2 separate regions of the Homo sapiens genome follow, and region 1 is linked to region 2. Evidence: promoter capture Hi-C in 16 types of primary human blood cells and fetal thymus (Javierre and others, 2016). All regions are on one chromosome and are shown on one strand. The core of a region is centred on a gene start or on the middle of the fragment in contact, and the rest is flanking DNA. Distances in the headings are between cores, read along the strand shown. Region 1 overlaps NMD3 (NMD3 ribosome export adaptor). Region 2 holds the start of PDCD10 (programmed cell death 10).

Region 1 (5,828 bases), core at 2,166-4,665, 6.5 Mb after region 2:
TCCGCATCCATTCCCAAGTCCTTAGATTTAGTCACATTCAAGGTTCAGAACATACCTACAGGGAACTGTACACTGAAGAAATTCGACCATCTTCTGAGCATGTTGTTTTGAGGAATAATAAAAATCCAGACCATCTTAAAAAAAAAAAAAAAGCCCTATGAAAATAATTATGCAAAATAGGATTCTCCTCTACTAACATGACTATATTATAAATTACATCTGTTTTAAACAAAATCAAATTATTAGAAAACTCTATTGTAGTCACAACAGATTAGAGATATCACTTAAGACTTCTTTGGCAAAAAGACAGACAAAATAAATCAGCAAATGAAAATAAAACTCGTAATTCTAATTCTAGAAAAAATAAAACTCAAGGCCAAGGGGGACAGAAAAACAAAGAACAAAGAAAGTTTATGAACAGCCGGGTGCGGTGGCTCATGCCTGTAATCCCAGCACTTTGGGAGGCTGAGCTGGGTGGATCATGAGGTCAGGAGATCAAGACCATTCTGGTGAAACCCCGTCTCTACTAGAAATACAAAAAATTAGCCGGACGTGGTGGCATGTGCCAAATCTCAGCTACTTGGGAGGCTGAGGCAGGAGAATCGCTTGAATCCAGTTGGCGGAGGTTGCAGTGAGCCCAGATCGCAACACTGCACTCCAGCCTGGGTGACAGAGCAAGACTTCATGTCAAAAAAAAAAAAAAAAAAAGAAAGTTATTTTATGTAATAAATGGAATAATCTACCAAGAAGATAACAGGAAACTATCTGAGAGATAGAAAACAAAAAGTACTAGAAAAAGAAAAGAAAAAATTAACAAATATTAACACATACAATCATTGTGAAGGACTAGAATAGGACTCTCTCAAAACCAAAATAATCATATTGACAAAAAATAGTAACAATTCACAGAACTTGAATAACCAACTATCAAGGTCGAGTTAACTGAGATTATAGAACACAGTTCTAAGAAAGAATACATATTTTATCAAACATTCATAAAACATTCATTTAAAAATCATGTATTAAGATTTTAAAAAGAAAAAGAATTTCAATAAATCCTAAACAGTAGAAATTACTAAAGACAACATTATCTCATCATAAAACAGTAGCACTAGAAATCAAGAAAGGAATAGCCAAAAGCAAACCTACCTAGCTGAGAAATATTAAAGATATTCTTGCAAATAACTAAATATAATTACCAAAACAGCCAATACTAAAATTACCCAGAATAGCCAAAACAATTTTGAAGAAAATGAACATTACACATTTAATGTCAAAACTCACTAACTTTAGTAAGTATGCAAGATAGCATGGTACTAATATAAGGATAGATATATAGATCAATGGGAGCAGACTTCAGATTCTAGAAATAAACCATTACATTTACAGTCAATAGATCTTTGACAGAAGACCCAAGGCATTCACTGAGGAAAGGACAGAGTTTTCACTGGGATGAAGAATATCCACATAGAAAAATATGAATTTAGACACTTATCTCACACTCTGCACAAAAATTAACTCAAGAGTTAGACCTAAATATATAAGACCTAAAACTATAAAACACTTGAAAGAAACTATAGGAGAAAATCTTTGTGACCTTGATTAGACAAACAGTTTTTAAGCATAACCCCAAAACCACAATTAAAAGAAAAAACTTGATAAACTGGACTTCAACAAAATTTAAAACTTTTGCAATTCAAAGGACACCATTAAGAATATAGAGTGTGAATTTTCTCCTACACACTAGGAGAAAATATGTGCAAACCATATATGCAGTAAGAGACTTGTATCCAGAATATGCTCAACATCGTTAGTCATTAGCAAAATGGAAATTAAAACCACAATGAGATACCACTTCATACCACCCTCTAGAATGGCTATAAACAAAAATATAAGAACAAGTGTTGAGGAGGATACAGAGAAATATTGGCGGCAGGAATGTAAAATGGTACAGCCACTTTGAAGCAGTTTGGTAGTTTTTTATATATAAACATAAATTTACCATATGACTTGGTAATTCCACACCTAAGTATGTACCCAAAAGAATGAAACAGCTGAGGTGCTTGCTGAGGGCAAATAAAATATGCAATGGGCAGTGGAAAAAGGTAGCTATAAGTACCAGCTACAGACCCATTATAGTACTCAGAAGAAAATTTATGATCTTAAATATATGTATTAGAAATTAAAAATAAACTAAGCTTTCAATTAATTAAAACAAAACAGAACTAAATAGAGTTGAGGGAATTAGTGTTAAAAACAAAATTAATAAAAAGATTGTTTAAAACTAAAAATAGTTTTTTGAAAAAACTAACATAATAGATAAAAGTAGCTAGTCTAAGGTGAGGTGAGTAGAAAGAGAAAAGATAAACATTAGGAACAATAGAGAGGACATAACTACAGTTACGGATGAGATTTATTTTATTTGTTCAATTTTATACCAAGAATCTAAAAAGCTAGATGAAATGGTTTTTCTTGGAAAATGGTATTAAAATTGACTCAAGGGGTAGAATACCTGAGAGGTGAATATCATAAAAGAAACTGAAAAGACGTCCCTTAGGAGATATCAAATTGGATGGCTTAATGGGCAAGTTCTTAAAAAACTTCTAGAGGTTAATTAAATGCTAGGTAGAAAGAAGGCAAGCTTTCTTTCTAACTCTTTTCAATGTCACTCACTTAACTGAGAGCAAGATTGGACAGAAGTATGTATGCATATGTATCAAACAGAAACCTCAAGAAATATCATACTTAGGTATGAAACATAAAAAGATAATTATGTTTGACATTAGCAGAAAATTAAAAATTCAGTTTCTCAGTTGCTCTAGCCACATTTCAAGTACTCAACAGCCAAATGTGGCTAGTGACTATACCATACTGGACAGTGCAGATAAAGAATTAAGTTGTTTTTTTTTTTTTTCCTAACAGAAAGTTCTTTTGGACAGTACTAATCCAGATATTATCAGTAAATATAAGATTACTTAGGTATGTTGAAATAAAAATCTGACATAATTTCAAATGCTTTTGAGTTTTAACTCACCATGAATCTCTTTGATACGAAGTGTATTCTGATGCATTCCATATTTCAGAATTAACTGTTCCAGATAGTAGAAAGTTTTTTTATGCAAAGTCTAAAATATAAATTATTTGATCAATAAATGCCCCACAAAAAAGCCATTTATAGGTATAGGACACACATACTATCTACAGATAGAGCATACTGATTTTTCAAACAATAACAATCTTTAAAGATTATCTAAAATGTAATAATGATCTATTTCCAAAGGTGAATGCTTCAGGGACCCAGACTATCCCTGGATTTAGAAAGAAGGAAAAGTTATAATTAACAAAGACGAAATATAAGATGTAGGACTCACTCATCATCTTCTCTCATTACCTTTTGCCTCACTTGAATCACAGCCTTCCAGAAATCCTTAGCTTCTACTCTATGGCAATCTCCACACATTTGGGACTGAACAACATAATCCACCACAAACACTTGTTGAAGGATAGCACCATTCATCACCTGATAAAACAATTACACTCCTTCATTCTTTTGGTTTTGTTTAATAACAAATATTTTCTTTAAAGAAGAACCTTTAATATTTAATTTAAAACTTTTTCCATTAATGCTTTGAGGACATCAATCAAATGTCCTCAAATTTAAAGTCATAAAAACAAGTTATACTATTTCAAGAACGGTATACAGATTTAATTCCTAAGATTTATTAGATTAGCATTTCAAATTTTCCTTTAGCTGAAGTGGTTGTGAGAATATTCTGTGTATATTTTACATATATATATATATATATAATTTTTTTTGAGACAGGGTCTCACTCTGCCTGTTGCCCAGCCTGGAGTACAGTGGCACGATCTTGGTTCACTGCAACTTCTGCCTCCTGGGCTCAAGTGATTCTCCACCTCAGCCTCCCAAGTAGCACACACCACCACGTCCAGCTAACTTTTGTATTTTTAGTAGAGATGGGGTCTCGAACTCCAGGGCTCAAGTGATCTGCCTACCTTGGCCTCCCAAAGTGCTGGGATCACAGGTGTGAGCCACCATGCCCAGCCTATACATGTTTACATAGAAAAATCATCCTTAGAAGAAAAAAATAAGGAAAACTTCTCAAAAAAAAAATTCCTTAATTTAATGATTCCCAAACATAACTGATCAGAAATCACATGGGAAGCTTTTTAAATACAGATTGAACATTCCAAATCCAAAAACCCAGAATCTGAAATTTCAGCTTCAAAATCTGAAACTTCTTGAGTTTCTAAATGACACTCAAAGAAAATGTTCACTGGAACATTTTGTATTTGAATTAGGGATGTTCAACCAGTTAAGTATAATGCAAAATTCCAAAATCCAAAAAATCCAAAATCTGAAACACTTCTTGTCCCAAGCATTTCAGATAAGGGATACTCAACCTACTTATAGATTCCCGGCCTCACATACAGAGAATTTTTGCTTCAGTTATGATGAGTCATTACAATGATCAGCCAAGTTTGAGGATCAGTACCTTAGACCATGTTTTTACTTCAATCCTTTCCTAATAAAAATAACTCTGGAAAAGTAAGTCTGCTAATCAGAAGCAATGACTACTCTTACTAGTGATCTAATTATTTGTACAGATGCTCAAAAGAAAACAAACAGCTAAAATTGAGTGTACTCTTTTTCTTTTAAGCTGTTCAAGCCATAAAATAACTTATCACTGGGTCTTCATTTTCACTACCTGCACTTTAACCATGCTGAGAAAATTATGTACTGCTTACCTCTTTCTGAATAGTCAGTTTAACTTTAAGTCTCTTAGAATGAGGCTCAGTCCAAACAAAGCCTGCATCTACAAGCCGTACCTTCAATAAAACACAAACAAAAAGAAACGTAAGTTCTCACCTAGGAGGAAAAAAAACACGAAAGAACAAATCATCAATAAGCAGATTTCATAAGATGCTTAAGGAATCTGTGATCAGCATACTACACACCATCATCACAAAAAAAGATTAATCATTGGTTACGTAACAACAGCAGCAAATCAAAGGACAACCCAATGACTATATTAATGCAACTGATATAATTTAAGCAAAAATTAAAGTATTTGCATAGGAAAAAAATTCTTTTCCCTTAAAAAAAAAAAAAAAGTACATTGTCCTTTAAAAGGAAATTATATTTTTTGGAGGAAAGCAAAGACCTTGTGACCTCATTATTTATTAGTAACCTCATGAACAAAAGTTTCCACTTGGATTATTCTCTCTATATTCTGTGACTTTTTTTAAGAAGTGACATTGATTAGAGAAGTTGCATGCACTGAATACTAAATCCACAACTATAACTCACTACTAAATCTGCAGCATCTGCATAGGCCAAAACAGTTTGCTATATGTGAAGATCTGAATATAACTCAAGAATGGCCAGAATGGGTGTTTGGGGAGAAGGGGTGGGTGGGAGAACAAGAATGGAGGCTGCTGTAATAACCTGGGCCAGATTGTAGATGATCTGAACTGAGAGGCACTGGAAATAACAAAAGCAGATGCAAGGGCTAGTTAGGAGATAAAAATCTGTAAGATTTATCTGCACAGTCCAAGTGATGCAGAAAAAAAATCTGTAAGATTTAATGGTAACTGGATATGGAAAAGAGGAAGAGAACAGACTCCAGAATGATGCTCAAGTATTTGCTTAGACAACTAGGCAGTACACTTTTTGTGACTACCTATACCGAAATAAACAATGGATATAATGAGAAAAAGATGTTACATTTGATTTCAGACATTTCAGTTTAAGACAGTATCTGTGAGATACCCAAGAGGACTTTTCAGTGAACAGTAAGATACAATTG
Region 2 (6,058 bases), core at 2,572-5,071:
ATTGCCATTTTAACTGGAATCAGACTGGTATTCATTGGATTTTGAATATTCAATTTTACTTAGAAAAGTAATGTATCCCAGTATGAATACAGGCCTCTACAAATTAATGACTGGGGGAGAAAAGGTCATGGAATCATGGATTATAGGAATTTAACAAAAAATATAAAATCTTTTTTCTCTTTTGCTAAAGGTGTGTTTCTCAAGTAGTTTTCTTTATATCTATTCCCCTGTATCCTTCTTTACCAAAACCATTTGATCTTGAACCTTTAAGTCTTGCTCTTTTGTGCTGCATGCATCAGTGAATCTTCCTGTTAAAAAGAAATCCATGCTAACTTATTTTTACTCAAAAGGCTTAGAATCAGAACTCTAAAGAAAAGACCAAAGGATATGGTAATTTGAAATTAACCAAGGTTTTTGGCTAAAGAACAATCATCCCCAGAGCAATTTCCATTCAAGAGAGACATTCTGCACTCTGTTGCTTTTCCTTTCTCATCATACATATTCACTGATAGCCATACACAAATAGTAAAATTAAAGAGCAAAATAAGTAATATGCTTATAACATGGGTAGCATTTTACACAGAATTATAAACTGCCATATAACGAACGTTTTCAACACCAATCAAGAAAAATCTTCAGATTACCTGAGATTGAATGTGAATATTAACTAACATGAATCAAGAGTGCAAGGTAAAAAATAAATGCCATATATTTCCAATGATATTCTCTCATATAAAAACATGGTCTTTTTTCAAATGATATTGAAACCCAATCTCTTTTACTGACACAGTAAAAAGGATCCAAATCTTGGAAACAGGTGAAAAAAATCAGTACTTTAATACCACAAACTCATTCATTCCTAATCAGATTCTATCCTTTACCGTGTCTCAGAGCAGAAGACCTATAAAGAGCTGAGATTCAAAGTATATCTTAATTTCAACTGTTTAGATATTTATCTTCTATCCATTTGCTTGCTTATTAACTGTTTCCCAATAAAACTCTTTCAAACAGATCTTTTAATAAAGGCTCGGAAAGAATTTCATTGGTAGTATTATAATTATTACATAGGGGAAATAACCCAGCGACAGCAATTATTCAGTTTTACAAAATGAATTAGTAGTAGGGTCTGAGAAAGAATCTAAGACTGATTCAAGACAATCCACTTAATCACAAATAACAAGGGCAAACACAGTCTTTTCCATGTGTCACCCTAATACCCACTTTTTTTTTTACCCCCAAAATCATTTTCACAGGGCCATATCAGCTATGTGAATTAATAGATTCTCCAGTGCTGTAGCAAAGATAAAACCTGATCCTTATAGTGGTTAAGTTTAGCAGCTACTGTTGCTTTTTCTTTCTTCTAAGCTCTTTGCTGTTTTTGATACTTAGCTGATTTGCTTAGGGGTAATTAAAAAGCAGCTGTTTTTCTATGATCTATCTGTCTATATATTTCTATGGTATGTGAGAGTGTGGGAGGGAAGAGTATACACACTGAAAAGTCACTTAGGCTTATCGGTAGTAGCACTCAGTAGGACTGAACTTTAATCTGGGAAGAGAATTCATTTGAGCCATTTCTTTTCAAAAAGAAATTTGGGATGCATTACAAAAATAAAATTTAAAATCCCGAGAACTCAGGAAAGCATAGAAATAGGAGAAAACAAGACAATTACTCCATTTTATTGACCCTGGTTATTAAAAAAAAACATAAAGTATTGAGACAGACTCTGAAATATGCAACTGTCACAATGAAAGCATTTCAGAGCAAAATTTGCTGCAATATGCTACTATGATTAAAAGCCATGTAATCTGGGAACCTCTGTAACAAAATGAAAATGAACTAGGAAAATAGCTTCTTACTACTTCTCTAAAAATAAAAGGCTGTAATTTTGTCATAATTACACAAAGGTAGGTGAGACTTTCATCTTTACCCAGCATTACAACTTATTTCCATCCATAGGTATTACAATTAACGTTGCTTTGAATGCACATATAGTTTAATACCGAGAATAAACTATTATTTTATGACACTACATGTGTTTTAAACTGAACCCACTATCATAACACATATTAAGGGTAGTCCTTCAGCACATACTCTCTACCCAGAGAAAAGATTCCCACACAGCTTTCCATGTACTCGTTTTTAAAATGTACACATATTATCGGACACAAATGAGAAACTAACGAGCAGCAGTGAGGTACACCATATGTTTCCATTGTAGGCTGAATCCAGGTCTTTGTTCCAATATTCCAGAGCCACTGGGAAGAAAGCTAACTATCCATTCATTAAAATTCATTTTTACATTATTGCTGGCAAAAGTTATACTTTTGATAGATTAAGTCAGAGCCCATCCTATCCTGACTATTCCTGCCTGCACTTGCTTCTTTAATACGGATTTCTTGCAATTCTAGGAAACTGCAAAATAACCACCCTGGATAACAGGTCGGTAGCAGGACAATCTGATAAACCAACGTAAAGGGTAGACACTGAAGAAGAATGCAAAGTTATTTTCCTAGTGAAATAGTTCAGAAGTTATTCTATATCAATAGCAAAATTTTTGCTTTTTATAGGCTACGCACCTATAACATCCACCAGATAACATCCACCTCGTCCTCAATTAGCAGGATTTTTCTCAATCTTCAGATCTCCCAGAACAGTTTTACTGGTGCAACTCAAACCAAAAACACTAACCACGCCCTTTATACCCAGAGTCAAGCTTCCTTTTGCTTTTTTGCCCTTAAAGTCGAAAAATGTAAATCTTTCACCCGAGAGGTTTTGCACCGGTTTCCTAACCCAACGCGGACTCTTTTAGCTGTGTCTTGATGTAATTCCTATTGGAAGACGTTTTCTCCAGGGCAGTGCAGACGCCCCGAAGAAGGACCCACGCTTACCTCCCACACACCTGCAACCCCTGACGGGATGCTGGAGCTTGTGCTCGGCGGACTGTGCTCCGCTCCGCTCTCGTTCCTGCTTTCGTCTCTCCCGGGAAACTACAGTCCAGACTGCGCCTCTGGCTTCTACAGGGACCCAAGCTCCGCCTCTCCCTCCTCTAGTTGGCGAATTTGGCAGCTGTTGCTCCTCCCCCTGCTGTTTCTGCAGCTGCCCGGACCGGAGGCAGCGGAAAGCAGCTGCCCTGGTACCTTTCCGCTCCCTGCACTTCTGCAGCTGCTCTGCCACTTCCACTCCCGTGGGGGTCCCTCTCCCCTCCTCTGTGGCTCACACCTGGAGCGGCCTCCTGCCCCACCCAGGCGTCTCTGCTGGGAGCCCCGGCTCAGCCTATCCTTCCCCGACCTGTGTGTCCGGATGCCCGGTGTGCCTGGGGCTTAGCTGCTCTCAGGGAAGCTGCCCCTCTGCCCAGTGCAAGTCCCCACACCAAGCCCTCCCTTCACCTGGGCGATTTCCCCGAGGCTTCCTCTCCACCCACACGGCATACTCAGCCCGACAGCCCCAGGATCCCCACCACAGGCCCCTCACCCCCTTCCTTCCTCTGCTCTGTCAGCCCGCCCCCTCAATGGGTGAGGCGCCTGCGGGGCCTACTCCGCACCCTGATTGGCGCAGGTGAGGGCTTGCCCCGCCCTTCCTCTCCTTTCCGTGCACCATCTCTCTTCATCTCACCTCCTCCCGCAAAGGCAGGGAATTCTCCTACTATTGGCTAGAAGTGTCACCACCCATCGCCTCAGGATCCCCCGCATGGCCTGCCGGGAAGTGTAGTCTTCCGATTGCAGGAATTGCGGACAACGCCGGCGAGCGGGACTACGAGTCCCCATAAGCCTCTGCACGACTCCGGCTGGGCAGGATTCCGGACAACGCCTGGTTCCTCTTGGGTCCTTCCGGCGTCGCCGGAGTGAATTGATCCGGGAGTTGAAGAGGGCTGCAAGGTGGGAAGTGAAGTCAGTGCCTCAGTTGCTGGTAAGGTGTAGCTGTTCTGTCCCAGTCCCCGTAGCTCTGCACCGAGCAGAAGAGGTCTAGGGTCACGCAGGGGCCATGGCTGAGGCACTTGGGCTTGGTTCTGGCAGGCGGAGCGGACGGGGCTGAGAGCGGGGCCCTACGGGCGTAAGCGAGGTTACCCTACGCGAGTGGCGTAAAGCGGGTTTGTAAATGCCGCCTGCCGGCTTGGGCCCGAACGCCTCCAGGAAGTCTCCTCTAGGTGGGGGCGGGAGGGGAAGGGCGAGGTTGGCCCCTGGTGCCCCGGGAGAGGGGACAGGGCGGATGTGCCTGGGGTGGGGTCCTTTGAAGGTGTGGCTTCGGACCGAGAGGTGAGGCTGCTGTTTTCCCCCTGCTTTGTAAGTAAGAGAAAAGGGAGGAGGAAGGAAAGGGTGCTTGGGAGTCGGCTCTTGGGGGTGACTCGGGTTATGCCCTTTGAGGGAAGAGGAGCACTGGAAGAAGGAAGAGACAAATGTTGGGGTCTACGGATTCAGTTCCAGTTTAATGATGTGGCCCTCTAAGGAGATAATTTTGCCTTAAACAGAAAGACTTGACCCTCTTAGGTGTCATACCTAAGGTATGTTTTTACTCCTTTACTGCTTTCAGAGCGCTTTCATTTTGGGATGCTGATGAGGAAACCGAGGGATTATATGACGTGCCCAAGGTCACACACGTAGGGACAGACTTTCTGAATCTAGTTCGGTTCGAGTCCAGCTTTAGAGTAGGGACGTTGGTTGTGCTTTTTGAAAAGGGTGGAGGAAGTTACAAAGTAAATGTATTTTATATAGTATATCTAAGAAGCCATTGTGAGATAAAAAGTTGTTTCTTGAACCGGAGTGAAATTCCTCAATAAAGGAAAGATCCTTTTGGAAAAAATAAAAATGGCCAGTTTCAACTTTTACAGATTTTTCCCCTTTTTTTAGGGGTGTATTAAATGATAGACTCTACTCTCACAGTTCATTTTTACGGGTAGGTAATAGGATGGGAGAACAACAGTTAAACAATATATCCCATCCTTAGAAGAATATTCTTTTCTTTTTCTACCTTAGGACTGTTTTTACTCTCATTTTGTAAAACTGATAATAGTGGGATTGGAATTCTTTCACAAAACTACACTTTTTTCAAATAATGTAGCGTTAGGAGAGTTTAGTGTGCCCATTACTAGAAAAGAAGGTATTTTGCATTTCTTGGAGGTAACATCGTCTTTTTTGAGACTTTACTTTTCCCCCATTTTCTTGACTCTGGGCTGTATTTGTGTGTGTGTCTGCAAATAATAAAATTGGGCTCTTGCATATTTTTATTTTTCTTAGCATCAACTGTGACTTTCAATTCATTCTTACTTTACATTGAAGAATGAAAAAACAGTACACGTATAGTTCATATCTTGCAGAAAGTAGTGCCTTTATGCAAGTCTTATCCTCTATAATGATTATGACCAGTTATAGCTCATGACTATTATTATTGGATAAGTTTTTAATAGAATTGTTAGAGTATGTTCATTGATGGCAGAATTTATTTGTGATAACTTTATATCCATACAGGTTAGCATGTAATAAATCATGGCTTACTCTTAACATGTAATAAATCATAGCTTACTGTTTTATATATAAGTTGATCATCAGACTATGCTGAATTTTGAATGTACTCTGCAGTTACTATATTATCAACAATGTGCTTCACTTTTTAATGGAAAAACATTTTTTCGGAACAGAGGTATTATCTTCCCTGATGGTTGAAATTAAGATGGTCTGGAAATTAATACGATTTTTAAAATAGAAAAAGTATGATACTATAGAATGAAGTAAAATCAGGAATAATGTACCATAAGTAATGTAGTACACAGACAAGGAAGACCCAGTTAAACAAATGGAAAATTATGTGGTGATAACTGACTTTGTGCTGGATTAAGAAAGGTGCAGTGATGTAAGTAGACCGTAAACTGAACATGAGTCAGTGATGGTAAAGCAAGAATATTAATCTGTTTTCTAGATGACAATGTAGGTATTTGCCTTTTGTTGAAGGAGGTATGAAATAAGTTCTAACCTTTGGCATGTAACTCTGTCATTATGGAAAGAGCTTTTGAACTATGAGGAAATTTTGGAAATTAGTTAATGTAATGCATTTGTTCAGTGTGTT

What was found. The method cuts DNA at HindIII sites, captures the fragments that hold promoters and counts their contacts. A CHiCAGO score of 5 or more calls a contact.
Region 1: a contact is called between a fragment that was not itself captured here and the fragment with the promoter of PDCD10 in region 2, in 1 of 17 cell types (total CD4 T cells). The highest score is 6.2, in total CD4 T cells.

The regions. Positions count from the first base shown.
Region 1 is chr3:161,232,419-161,238,246 of GRCh38, reverse strand. NMD3 (NMD3 ribosome export adaptor) reads right to left here. Exons shown (of 16, transcript NM_015938.5): 5 at 4,768-4,848; 6 at 3,392-3,520; 7 at 3,035-3,125; 8 at 56-134. Among named protein-coding and RNA genes, the nearest start is that of NMD3, 14 kb to the right of the region's middle. The HindIII fragment of the contact is 1,543 bases long and covers 2,644-4,186 here.
Region 2 is chr3:167,732,655-167,738,712 of GRCh38, reverse strand. It overlaps PDCD10 (programmed cell death 10), which reads left to right and starts at 3,821. Exons shown (of 9, transcript NM_007217.4): 1 at 3,821-4,051; 2 at 4,363-4,499. SERPINI1 (serpin family I member 1) reads right to left here and starts at 2,992. Exons shown (of 9, transcript NM_001122752.2): 1 at 2,890-2,992. RefSeq lists an enhancer at 3,570-4,009 and a silencer at 4,060-4,189. The HindIII fragment of the contact is 6,113 bases long and covers 2,717-6,058 here.